Linked DNA regions of Homo sapiens: region 1 is linked to region 2. Evidence: promoter capture Hi-C in human tissues and cell types (Jung and others, 2019). All regions are on one chromosome and are shown on one strand. The core of a region is centred on a gene start or on the middle of the fragment in contact, and the rest is flanking DNA. Distances in the headings are between cores, read along the strand shown.

What was found. The method cuts DNA at HindIII sites, captures the fragments that hold promoters and counts their contacts. A contact is called where the count stands out against the background at its distance.
Region 1: a fragment that was not itself captured here is called in contact with the fragment with the promoter of UNC5D in region 2 in 2 of the 25 tissues and cell types used here (H1 embryonic stem cells and thymus).

What each region holds. Positions count from the first base shown.
Region 1 is chr8:35,284,061-35,291,093 of GRCh38, reverse strand. The region is part of intron 1 of UNC5D (unc-5 netrin receptor D); the gene reads right to left. Among named protein-coding and RNA genes, the nearest start is that of UNC5D, 52 kb to the right of the region's middle. RefSeq lists enhancers at 3,931-4,431, 4,432-4,932. The HindIII fragment of the contact is 4,518 bases long and covers 1,101-5,618 here.
Region 2 is chr8:35,232,998-35,240,101 of GRCh38, reverse strand. It overlaps UNC5D (unc-5 netrin receptor D), which reads right to left and starts at 4,627. Exons shown (of 17, transcript NM_080872.4): 1 at 4,215-4,627. The coding sequence starts at 4,317. The HindIII fragment of the contact is 15,361 bases long and covers 1,143-7,104 here.

The DNA.
Region 1 (7,033 bases), core at 2,110-4,609, 52 kb before region 2:
TTCCACTTGGTTTACTGGGCATTGGTCTGAGGTTTAATTCTAAAATCCCTCTCCCACAAGGATAGCCAAAAGTAGCTGATTTCTGGTTACCCTTCCAATTTCTCTGACACTCTTTCTAGTCACACCTCTTTTTTTTTTTTTTTTTGAGATGGAGTCTCGCTTTTGTCGCCCAGGCTGGAGTGCAATGACACGATCTCAGCTCACTGCAACCTCTACCTCCCAGGTTCAAGCGATTCTCCTGCCTCAGCCTCCTGAGTAGCTGGGATTACAGGCACGCACTACCACACCTGGCTAATTTTGTGTTTTTAGTAGAGATGGGGTTTCTCCACGTTGGTCAGGCTGGTATCCAACTCCTGACCTCAGGTGATCCGCCCGCCTTGGCCTCCCAAAATGCTGGGATTACAGGCATGAACCACCGCGCCTGGCCTCCACACTTCTTTTTTTAAAATTAATATTTAAACATTTATCTTAGTTACTTTGAAGTATATAATACATTATTATTGACTATAGATGCCTTGCTATGCAATAGATATTAAAACCTACTCTTCCTGTCTATTAGAAACTTGGTAACCTTTGATTAACAACTTCTCATTCCCTCCCTCCCCAACCCCCTACCCTTACCCCAGCCTCTGGTAACCACTGTTCTACTCTCTAATTCTATGAGTTCAAAGTACAATCATACAGTATTTGTCTTTCTGTTCCTAGCTTATTTCACTTAGCATAAGGTCCTCCAGATTCATCCATGTTGTCACAAGTGACAGCATTTTCCCCTTTTTTAAGGTCTAAGAGTAGTTTATTATGTATATACACCATCTTTTCTTTATCCATTCATCCACTGATGGATGCTTAGGTTGCTTCCATATCTCAGCTATTGTGAATAATGCTGCAATGAACATCCCTTCGACATTGATTTCAGTTCCTTTGAATATATACCCAGAAGTGGAATTACTGAGTCATACAATATTTCTATCTTTAGTTTTTTGAGGAACCTCCATAATATATACATTCCCGCCAATAATATACAGAAGTTCCTTTTTCTCCATATCCTCTCCCAACACTTGCCTTTCATCATTTTGATAAAGACATTCTAATGGGTATGAGGTGATACCCATTATATAATTTATTTTTATTTTTATTTTTCATTTTTTGTTTCAGAGCCAGAGCCTCACTATATTGCTCTGGCTGGTCTCAAATGATCCCTCCTGTCTCAGCCTTCCAAGTGGCTGAAATTACAGGCAGATGCCACCATGCCTGGCTCTTTTATTGTGGTTTCGATTTTTCTAATGATTTGCAATGCTGAGCATTTGTTCATATACCTATTGGCCATTTATATGTCTTCTTTTCAAAAATGACTGTTCAAGTACTTTGCCAACATATAATTTGAGTTGTTTTCTTGCTATTGAATTGTTTGAGTTCATTATATATTTTGGATGTTAACCTGTTATCACACGTATTATTTTCATTCTCTTAAATTTGTTAAGATTTGTTTTGTGGCCTAATGTGTGATCTATCTGGAGAGTGTTCCATATGCATTTGAGGAGAATGTGTATTTTACCATTGTTGGATGGAATGTTCTGTACATATTTATTAGGTCTATTTGATCTAAATTACAATTCAATTCCAGTGTTTCTTTTCCATCTAGATGATCTGTCCATTGTTTAAAGTGTGGTGTTCAGATTCCCCTGCTATTACAGTATTGCAATCTATCTGTCCCTTCAGATCATTTAATAATTTCTATATGTATTTCAGTGCTACAATGTTTAGTGCACATATATTTACAACTTTTATGTCTGCTTGATGAATTAACTCCTTTGTCATTATGTAACAAACTTCTTTGTCTCTTTTTATTGTTTTTTACTTAAACTATATTTTGTCTAATGTAAGTTGGTTATCATTGCTCCCTTTTAGTTTCCATTTGCATGGAATACCATTTTCCATCCCTTCTCTTTCAGTTCATGTATCATTACTGATAAGGTGAGGCTCTTGTAGGTAGGATGGGGTTAGATCTTATTTCTTTTTTAATCCATTCAGCCACTCTATATCATTTCATTGAAGAATTTACACCACATATATTCAAGGTAATTATTGATAGGTAAGAACCTGCTACTGTCTTTTTGTAATTTGTTTCCTGATTGTTTTTTAGGTCCCTTCTTTTTTTCTTCCTTTCCTGCTGTCTTCCTTTGTGGTTTGATGGTTTTCTGTGGTGATATGCTTTGAATTCTTTCTTCTTACATTTTGTGAAACTGCTATAGGTTTCTACTTTTGTGGTGGTCATGAGGCTTACATAAAATATCTCATCCTTATGAAAGGCTACTTTAAGCTGATAACAACTTGCCTTTACATGCATATAAAAACTACACTTTCACCCTCCCAACAACTTTTATGATATTGAAGTCCAAATTTACATTTGTTTTTGTAATTTCTATCTCAACAATTTATTCTAGCTATAGTTGTTTTCAATTTTTTTGTGTGTTAACCCTCCTAGTAGGAATACAATTGTTTTATATACCACCGTTACAGTATTAGAGAATTCAGAGTATGACCAGGCATTACTTATACCAAAGAGTTTTTTACATTCACATATCTTTTGTTATTAAAAGCCTTTTCTTTCAGCTTAAAGAAACCATTTAGTAATTCCTGTAAAGCAGGCCTAGTGGTGATAAACTCCCTTAGCTTTTGTTTGTCTGTTTTTATTTGCTCGAAAGTTTTTTTTTTGTCCCTCATTTATGAAGAACAGCTTTACCAGGTATAGTATTTTTGGTTGATAGTCTTTCTTTTCCCCAGTATTCTGAGTATACCATCCCACTCTCTCATGGCCTGTGGGATTTCTGTTGAGAAATAAGCTGAAAGATGTACTGGGGCTCCCTTGAATGTGATATGCTTATTTTCTGTAGCTACTTTCTGTATTCTTTATCTTAATTTTTAATAATTTGATTATTATGTGTATAGTAAACTCCTCTTTGGGTTCAATTTGATTGGCAACCTCTGAGCTTCCATGAGATTATCTGTCTCCAGATTTGGGAATTTTTCAGCCATTATTTTCTTAAATATGCTGTCTAAGCCTTTTGCACTCTCTCATCCTTCAGGAATTTGTATTATGCAAAGGTTAGTCCACTTACTGGTGTTCTATAATTTTCATAGGCCTTCTTCACTCTTTTATATTGTTGATTTTTACTGCTTTGATTCGATAATTTCAAATGTCCTATATTTGAACTCACTGATTCTTTCTGCTGCTTAAATCTGCTTTAAAGTATATTTATTTATTTATTTATTATTTAGTCATTTTTTTTGAGACAGGGTCTCACTCTGTCACCCAGTGAGTGCAAAGGTGCAATCATAGCTCACTGCAGCCTCAACCTCCAGGGCTCAAGCAATCCTCCAACCTCAGCCTCTGAATATCTGGGACTACAGGCACACATCATCATTCCTGACTGAATTTTGCAATTTTTCTTTTTTTTTTTTGGTAGAGGCAGGTTTTCTCCATATTGCTTAGTCTGGTCTTGAACTCCTGGACTCAAATGATTAGCCGCCTCAGCCCCCCAAAGTACTGGGATTTCAGGCACGTGCCACCATATCCAGTCTTCTTTGAAGCTTTCTATTGACTTTTAGGGTTCAGTTATTATATCCTTTATCACTATGACTTTCATTTGATTTTTTTATTTGTTTCTTCCATTTCTCTGTCAAACTTTTCATTTTGTTTATAAACTGTTTTCTAAACTTCACTTAATTCTCTATCTGTATTTTCTTGTAGTTCCCTGAACTTCTTTTAGAGGATTATTCTAAATTCTTTGTCAGTCATTTCATAGATCTCCATTTATTCTGGGTCTATTACACAAGCTTTATTGGTTTCTTTTGGTGGTGTCATGTTGCCTGATTTTTCATTATCTTTGTGTCCTTATGCCTGTGCATTTGAGGAGAAAGCCAAATTTTCCAGCCTTTGCAGGTGTTTTTTGGTGGTTATAGATCTTTACCATTTAGTCTAGCCTGAGATTCTGGAGGGGTGGCTGGCAGCCTTTGCTTGGTGTCAGGTTCTATAATTGGGCTGAGCTGCTTCCTGTGCTCTGAGATCAAATAGTATTTCTGGCTGTGCTCTGTGATCAGTGAAACCACTAGCTGAACTTTGCCATCAGGTGAGGCTGCTGATTGGACTCTGCAGCCATGACTGATTAGGTAGAGTTGCAAGTTGTCTTCCCTGGCTCTGTTGTTTGGAACCTGTAGTTGGGCACGGCTGTATGACAGGCTCCCATGCTGGGTGAGATTTTTGTGGTTGTTACTCAGCCACACAAGGTGGACAAGGCCAGAGGATATGCCCTATAGACATGTGTGGACTTGGGCTTACCTACTGGTCTAGGGTAGAGTAGAACGCCAAGGTTTGGTGGTGGCCAGATGCTCTTTCCATGGGTAATCACTGACCTGCAACTGCCTCCTGGTTTGGGGAAGACATAATGAGAGCATCAGGGCTGAGTTGGATCATCTCTTCACTGCTAGGCTTGGGCAGGACCAGATATTGTGTCCATGAGTAATCACTGACATGCAGTTGCTTCTCTCCCAATCTGGGGAAGATTTCATGTGAGCGCCAGAACTTAGTTGGATTACCTCTCCACTGCTAGGGTCAGGCAGGGCCAGATGCTCCCTCCATAATCATTGGCTTAGAAGCACCTGGCAAATGTGGGGAAGCTCGCTAGGAATTCAAGCCTAGAAGACTTGTGGGCGGTGTTTCCTACAGTATGACACTGTTGGCTAGTTTCTCTGGTGTGGCACTCACTCCCAAGTTCTTGAATATTTGGGTTGGTATTCTTGCCTGTGGATAGTTGCTAGTTGGATTTCTGTGAGGTGAGTAAAGTTAAACAAAAATTCCTATTCCACCATCTTGTTGGTGTCACTCTGGGAAAATGGTCACACTTTCTTAAAGTCATATATATTGATTGTATTTGACAGACAGAGTGAAATGCAGCCCTATTTGTGATGATAATGTCTTTTAACAGTTGTCAAGACTGATTTGACAGAAGGCTACAGTCAGTCCTAACTGCCAAACAGCTTTTTCATTTTTATATAAAACTTTGGGGCCTCATAAATCGTTACTATATTTTATTTTTCCCTAAAAAATGACATACTCACAAACTGTGACTTACGTTTCTAATGTTTCTGTTTCTATGTTATTTTTTAAGATTATACTGTCATATAAAATGTGCTAACTGTACAATCACAGGACTTTCACCTCACTCGACTACAAAGTCCAAAATGTAGCTAGATAGAAAACTGCTTATAATGTTGATAGCCTCATTGTCAGATTCATGCATAAGGGAATTAATCTGTGGATTCCCCTGGCTATCTCTTGGGGTAAGGCTGACTTCTTACCCCAAGAGACAGGTAAAACACCCTTCACTGGGGCTCACCCAGAAAGACCTCTTCAGTAAGAAGCTTAACCTGTATACAGCAGTGATTACAATTCTTTGCTCTGGATTAAGAAAAACAAATTGTTTTTTCTAGATCCCTGAATAAATATAATTGATCAATTAGCTTGATTTTTACCCTTTATCTCACATGATAGCAAATTAAATGCTACCCAGAAAGCTTACTTGGATTCATCTATCACCACCTTGAAGAAAATTTAACGTTATTCACATATTCATAGAACACTAGAAATTGAACTTATGCAAAGCTTCATCTGAAACCAATTACTACTTCTAAACAAAACTAGAGCCAAACATTCGGGACAACGGTTATCTTCCAAATACTACAGAATGTCCTAGCATGAATGGCATAATTCTCCTAGGGAGACCCAGGGAAAGGTGTTTGCCCGAAAATAAGTTAGCCTTGTCCTGCAGAGAATAGGTTGGAAAAATACGCAGGCCTTTTCCTCATCCATGAGTCTAACAAGGACACTACTGCACTGTCAAGCAGTTTCATATCTGCCTAGCTGCAATTTGGAGTTGATAGGCCACAGAGGTGAAAGTCTTATGATTATACAATTTGTGGTATTGTATAACAGCATAAACTCAAAAAGTCACCAAAACATGAGTGTTGCTATGTAGTGAGTGTATCATTTAGGTATTGGTATCTATCTCAAAGCCAACTAGAATGAGTCTATTCTAAAATCACCAGTGATAAAGGTATCAAATAGGAAAAAAAGCACCCCAGGTCAAAAGAGGCAAATTGATTAAAAGAACTTTACTATATGTTATAGAGCTCAGAGAGAGAAATATTTTGCTTCTAGAAAATAAACATTATAGGCCAGGTGCAGTGGCTCACGCCTATAATCCCAGCACTTTGGGAAGCTGAGGCAGGCGGGTCACGAGGTCAGGAAATCGAGACCATCCTGGCTAACATTGTGAAACCCCATCTCCACTAAAAATACAAAAAAATAAAAAATTAGCTGGGTGTGGTGGTGGGTGCCTGTAGTATCAGCTATCCAGGAGGCTGAGGCAGGAGAATGGCGTGAACCTGGGAGGCGGAGCTTATAGTGAGCTGAGGTCGTGCCACTGCACTGCAGCCTGGGCGACAGAGTGAGACTCCGTCAAAAAGAAAAGAAAAGAAAAGAAACATTATATTTTAAATTAATTTCCCCAGATTTTCCTACTGCTAAATCAGAAAATAGATGTGGTTTATATGCCAGTGATAATGGATAAAGATAACTGTGAAATTGTCAGGAGGTAATGTATCTCCAACTCATTGCATTAAGTCTGGGATTTAGATGGATAGTGCTAGGAGTAGTGAAAGAAGGTAATATTTTTGTCATTCTTGTGCAAATAACATCTGTCACCAAAAGTAGTGAATTTTTTAAGCATTCAATTAAAAGATGGCTTTTTAACCTCTATGTTTCAAAGAAATAAACACTTGCTATTAGTTAATAAAAGTTGCTTATGCCCCCTATGAGTCCATAATAATTTCATATGCATAATTTTTAAACTCAGTATGATTTTTTCAGAGAAAAGCATACACTAGCATAATATAGTTTAATATAGTCTCATGCAGTCTTTATCTTATTTTATTTATTCATAAAACTGGCCAAGACCAAGATTTTCTGTTGATA
Region 2 (7,104 bases), core at 3,378-5,877:
GAGCCGGGTGTGATGATGCATGCCTACAGTCCCAGCTACTCAAGAGGCTGGGGTGGGAGGATCACTTGAGCCTAGGAGTTCGCCACTGCAGTGAGCTATGATGGCACCACTGCACTCCTGCCTGGATGACAGAGTGAGAACCTGTCTCAAAAAAGAAAAGAAAAGAAAAGAGAAAAGAGAAAAAGGAAAAAGGAAAGGAAAGGAAAAAAGAAAAGGAAAAGAAAGAAGGAGGGAGAAAATAAGTGTCTCTACATAGAATATGTGACTAAGAATGAAATAGAAATAGGGAACGTTTCCATTGATCTATTCTGTTGAGCAGTTAGTTCATGAAGGTATCAGAAGGAGGAGGAAGGAAGAGAAGACAATGATGTTGCTGGCCAAGTAACAGCCTGGACGAAGGGACAATCAGCATTAATGGCAAAGGTGTAATCAAGAAGGAGGGCACATCTGGGCTCCCTGTGAACACATGTGCCTTCCCATTATGAGGGCATCACACACCACCACCACCCCCTTCCTTAAGAGGATGCTATGGAATAAATCACTTGTCTTTGGGATTAGATTTTAATACATGTCTGAGTCTCTAGCCTAGATATTAAAAAAAAAAAAGCAGAAGGGAAGGATATCAAACATGCAGTATCTCCCAATAAACCAATTCCCTGATAAACACTGGCAGTGCTTTAAGTTGGGTACTGCATTTGGTAGGAAGAGGACAATAGAAACAAATTTATGAAGCATTGAGACAATAAACAGAAAAGTGATTTCCTAATCAATAAGACAGCGCAGTGTAGAACTACCTGACGGATTCAGTCATCCAGTCCTGAGAGAGCTCAGAAAGGATCCACAGCTCCAAATGTTTCCCTCCCCTGTGAGGTACTACTTAAAGAACCACAGACCCACCGATAGGTCATCTGGAGAGCAAAAAAAGTATGCAAAGGGTGACAAGTGCTATCATTATAGGGCTAGGTCAGAACAATTAATCTCTTATTAAAAACTGAGATGCTTAAAAGATCTCTTAAGAAGGTGCCACTGGGCTGCTCAAAATAAGAGCACAACCCAAGAATCAGGAAAAAATAAGTCTGGCAGGAAATAGGGGAAAAAGACTCTTTCTCATAGTCCTAGGAAGAGAAAGATTTGTGAGGAAAAGGAACAGAAGAAGTAAAGTGGGAAGGAAGAGGGTGGCCTCACAACATTCATTAAGGTAGAAATGACTATAGATTTTAAACTTTATGAGCTAGACAGATAGACGGATTTAAGTATGTGTAAATCACAAGACTATTATTATGCCTATGTAATAAATGTGTACTTCTCTTGCCATTAATGCATTACTCTAGTTATTGCAATCAAAATTTCATTGTCCAGGAAATGTTTTAAAGCAAGAAATTGTATGAAAGCTCAGCTTGTCTAAGATTATCTTCCTCTCTGCCTTTAATGACTACAGTATCTTATGTACAGTATCTAAGGCAAAAATAACAAGCAGATGAACAGCAGTCCCCCTTTTTTTCTTGAAGAACAAAAACAAATCAGTATGACAACATGATGTGGATTCAGTTAGCACTTGGCAGGTCATGAATAACTTTTAAACAACCTCCTTTTAAGTTGGAAAGTGTAAAAATATACAGTGATCATGGCACCAGAGTGCCTTCCTTACAATATGCCGACAGGCAGAGATGTTCATCTGAAGAGCTAAGTCTTACTTACAAAGGAGGGAAACAGAACATTGCTTCTTGGGCCACTACTGGGCTCTACAACATTTCCTTGTCCCAAGGGTCTTCCTCCTAGAGTATATTCAAAACCAATTTGAAATCTCCCTCTGATTTGCAGAGGTTTCTACATAAGTATGGAGGGAAAGGAAAGAAAAAAAAAAGTTGGTGCAATCATTTTGGAAACAGATAAATGATAAATATGGTAAAGAAAACGCTACTGAATTGTTAAATATTCTCATAACAGCAAGGCAAATGGCATAATTCTATACCCCGTTGGTTAGGGCAAGCAAAGTATCTTGTTTCAAATCAACAAGAAAAGTCCTAAAGAACAAAAACTATTAATTGGATAAGTAAGAACAACCTAGGGCTAATCCTAGAGAGTATGGTGAGACTAGTGGTCAGGCAAGCATGCCACACCAGTGCATCTTATCTTGGTTTTAATGAATGGACACCTTTCTGGGAAGGGAGAACTTCATAAGCACTGAAACACACCCTCTATTCTGAAAACTCCAATTACACCCAACTGTGCAAAGCCAGGTGCATGTGGCTTCACCGGTTTCACAGCCTGACTAGTGCTCATTTCTTGAGGACTCTCTGACAGTTGCTAAGGGGAATGGGCCTCATGCCCCAGAATGTAAAATATGACATGGGAAATATCAGTCAGATTTACGGCTCCACTCCATGTGTCTTGCATATTACTATGATCTGTGCAAGACATTTGTTGTAAATAAGCCTGCAGAATGTACAGCATGTTTTCCAGGAGACCTTTAAAGAACAGCTTGCAGACAAGAGGTGCTAGCCTTAGTTTCGCAGCCAGCAAAACTCCATCCAAGAGGCTGCTGGCATGTCCCCACCTCTTGTTTCGAGCTGGCTTCAAGACAACGTCACCAACCCAATTCCAAGGGTGAGTACCTGGAGTTAGTGACTGTGAGGTATTCCACACGAATAGTAAGTGGAAACTCAGACATTTAGATTAACATTTAGAAAAGACCCACTTTTCCCATAAGAGTGTATTAAAAACAACTGAGAGCTGACTTTGCAATGAGACATTTGCCGTACGTAGTAAATTAAATGGCTGAAGCTTGTGCTTCTTCCAGTACGAGAAGGAACTGTGGTTCATCATAACCCAGGGTGTACAATCACCGACGCTCATTTTTAAACCTCCCCTGCTTCTTACAAAGCCCGCTCCATTAAAAAAAAAAAAAAAAAAAAAAAAAAACTTTTCAGGAAATGAAATGCAAATGGGCAAAGAATAGGATCATACAATGGAGAGCCTCTATCAACCTCTTAAAAAGAAAATCTTTCTAGGCAGCCGGACTGCTTTTAACACGCCATAAGCTTTTATAAAAATGAGATAACATTGGTTCTTTTGTGATCGTCCTCAACCCTTTCCACCCTTTCACTCTCCAGGCTGGTCGGAGCATGTTCAGGAGACCGAACAGAGCAGGTGAAGTGGTCAGCTCAGCTCCACCTCTCCCCTGGCAAGTGTAAGGCAAATCATTTAACGGTATCACATATTCTAAGCCTGATGGATGGAACACAGAGAAGGAAAAAGGGAAAGAAGGGCGGGAAGGCAAAGCTTCCGATTTTTTTCAAAGGTAAAGCTCCGGTACTTGAGCTGTGTCTGAAACTGCCTCTGATCATCTTCAAAACAACTCCTTGGGATTTATCTTTAACTTGATGCTGCCTGTCCTCGCTCAAGGTGGAGCTGAAACCAGTTGCGAAATTTCCCTCTGCTGGAGTCCAGAGGATCCAAGAAAATGGGGTCTAGGCTTCTAAGTCGGAAAGAAGCAGAGGTTTCCCTGCGGCTCGGTGGGGCCCGCGCTTCCAAGCCAGAGTAGGCGCCGGGAAGGGAGAGGAGGCGCCTGGTGAGCAGCCTCGGGCCAAGTGCTCATCCCGGCTGGGCACTGCAGGCGCGGTTAAACTGGGATGGTGCACGCCGCTCTCCCGAGCTCCAGGGCTGGCTGGGACCTCGGGCTAAGGACGCCCGAGGGGTGCCAAGCTAGGCGCAGAGCGAAGGGACTTCAGCATGGGTGTTCCTCCCCTAAGGGAAAAGACACCCTCTCTGTTCAAGCCCACCCTACAGACACTCCCATCACCTGGCCCCTCTCCCCAGGAACTCTCCGACATCGCTATGGGCGCTAACTCATGACCAAGCTCGGCTTGAGAGGAAGTGGAGAGGAGAGGGGAGAGCGAGATTGGAGTGAAGACCGGGCTACTCCAGTCTGCAGCAATTGGGGAGGGCTTGGAAAATGGAGCAGGCAAGGAGGGTCCAGGAAAACGGTAGGGGCCCGGGTCACAGCCACCTGTAGGATTGCGGCAGATCGCAAACTTGGGTTGGAAGGCTGTGGTCCCCTCGGAGTCCTCCACTCGGCTCCCATCCGGTTGGGCTTGGAGCGCCGAGGTGCAGGGCGCAAGTTGGGAAGCCAACGCCATCGGTGCAGGTCCCGCTCCGTCAGGCTGGCGCCCCTGCGCCCTCGCCCCCAGCTGCCCGCTCCGCCCAGCGCTTACCTCGGGCAGCCGCGGTCCCTGCCGCCCAGAAGCACAGCCCCAGCCACGGGAGCCAGCGGCGCGCCCCTCCGCCGCCGCCTGCGGTGGCCGCCGCTCTCCCCATGCTCCTCGCCGCGTTCCGGAGGGCGGCTCTTCTTCACGCTCCGGGAGCCCGGGAAAGGGTCGGCGATGAGGGTCCCGAGTCGAATGGGTCTCGGGAGTCTTCAGAGAGTGACTCTGCTCCACGATCGCTTCCTAAAGCAGCGGGGCAGGGAGCTCCGAGCCGCCGCTGAATGGGCACCCCGAGAAAGGGCGCGTCCCCATAGCTTCCCACGGCGCGGCGACCGCTGCCGCCAGCGCGGATGCCGGAGTCGCCCGCAGTCCCCGCCGCGCAGTTCCCAGCCCTCGCGCCGCTGCCGGGCCCCGAACTACGGAGCGGAGGCGAGAGTCCGCATCGCTAATGAGACCCCCGCAGCCGCCCCTTCCCCTCCCCTCCGAGCGGCAGCCAATGAGCCGGGCTGGGGCGGGGCCGCGGGAGGGGCGGTGACGCGGCGGCGCTGGGCTGGGGCCCGGGAGGCGCAGGTGAGCCAGAGGCCGCTCCACGTGCCCCCGGGGCGCTTCGGGCCCCGCCTGCAGCTCCCCCCCCCGCTCGCGGAGAGAGGAAGCGGGCTGGGAGTCGGGCGGCGGGGATGCGGCCACGCCGCGGGGAGCTGAGCGGAGCCGGCTGGCCTCTTGGGGCGAACGCCGCACAGATATGTGGGCATCTCGGTTGCCTAACTCAGTCACCTGCTTCCAGGAGACCTCCGTTTTGTTCATCTACTTTGAGCCCTTCTAAAGTCCTGCCTCTCCTACTTCCACTTTTTCCCATTAGATCAGACATCACTCAGGAAAACATCCTGAGAAAAAGAAAGACTTAAAATAAATGCGTAGTGGGAAAAAATAATAATGGAGTTACTCCATTGCTGCAACTATGCTAACTTCATTCATATAAATAAAGAAGTGGGGAATAACAATCATGGGTGCATTAAGGCTTGTATAATCGATTTTTATTTTTGCTTTCTTTTTTTTTCGAATTCCCTATTCTGTTGTCCTGAACACTCCGGAATCCCCAAACTTTTCAGAAGCTCCCTCATTTCGAATGGCTCCTATTTTTGTCAGTTTTAATCTGAGCCCAAGGAATTGCCTTCTGGTAAGTATCAGGGAAAGGAGTGTCGACTTAAAAAGGAAGAAGGTGAGGCGAAATTAATATAAGTAAGAGTTTATTTGGGCCAAGTGTGAGGATTGCAACTCAGGAGTATAGATTTAAGTTGTTTTGAATATATATTTTGATTAGTAGTAGTTATAAGTGGATTCTTAAAGGCAAAAAAAAGGGGGATGGGGAGTGGACTGATGTAACATTGTTAGGAATTTATACTGATTTATTGAAATAATGTCGATTAGTGATTAGTTATATATAGTTAAGTCATAGGATGTGGGTTATACTGTTTGATGTGGTATTATTAGGTTAATTTATAGCTATTTGTAGTAATAGTATGTAGTTTTAAGAAATGAATATATAGTTTAAAGGAAGGAGTAGGGCATGATTGTGGTCTCATTCTAATGTCTCTCTGGGCCTGACAATTAAAAGGACTTTGAAACGCGCTGGACTTTTATAAGAAGAAGGAAAGAAGACTCTTTTTTTTTTTTTTTTTAAGTGTGGCTTGTTTTAGATAGATTATCAAATTTTTATTTAACTGCTTTCGAAAATACCTCACGGTTGCCTCTTCCCTCTGCTGGAGGAGTAACTTTAGAGAGCTTGTCCTAGGTCACTCAATTTCAGAGCACACCCAGGAAGTTGGTGGGGAGTCCCAGGCTCCCCAATTGGACTACCTCATTATCGCTGCCAGGATCGAGTCCTCAAAATGGCAGCAGAGCTCACCTTTTGCCTGGTAATCCCCCATAGAAAAGGGAGCCTTGGTTTGAAAGGCAACCTTCCCAGCAGTTCCTCACTACCCACGCTCAACATCAAGTACTTTTCAAAAATCCATGTCTCCCGCCAATGTGCTACCTGCTCCCAAACGCCTTTCTCTGAAGAATAAACAGTTTAAGGTGAGGTAATTGTTCTAGATGAGGTAATTGCACTAACTCACTTTCTTCCGAGGAAAAGGAAGATAATAGGCAAAAAAGATTGATTCTCTGATAAGCACTTTTGTGCCAGCCCTCTCTTGAGTGCCACCAGACACGTGAATGTCTGTGCAAGAAGCCGATTGTTTCCTCCGGTCGCCTTGCGGCTCAATAAAAGGTTTGGGACCTAGTCAAGAAAACCAAGCTCTGGGGAATGGATGCTTCAAAGCAAAGACTGATGTGGGGCTGGCTAGGGACTTGCCTGGAAATCTCTTTAGAATCTTGGTAAATGAGGGTTTTGTCCTTTTCTGCTTAGAAGGTGAATTGAGAATTAATCTACCAAATATGCTTTACCTGTCTTCTGGAAAATAGTCATTCATCGCCTGACTTTCCTTATTCTTCAGGACTATGTGGCAGTTCTGTCACAAATGAGGATTTTCTTAGAACAAAAAAGGAAAAAAGAATTACTATGTGTCCAAGATACTATTTAAGTCTTTCTACTGACCCACTGGGGGCAAAAATAAAATCAGTTTTATTTCAAAATGGGATATAAGTAATAGATAAGCTAATTTTAGGTTAATAATTCAAGTAAAATTGCAATGACAAATGAGAGTGAAGGGGGAAATTAATAACCTTTTAGTGTATACCATGCTCAAGGATTGAGTCTCTCATGCAGATTATTATTTTAAAGCAGAACCAAACCCTGCAAGGTAGGCGTTATTATTCCTATTTAGCAAGTGAGGAAAGTCAGATTGAGTTTAAAGGTGATTTGCCCAAGATCACATTAGTAAGTGGCTGAACGTCATGA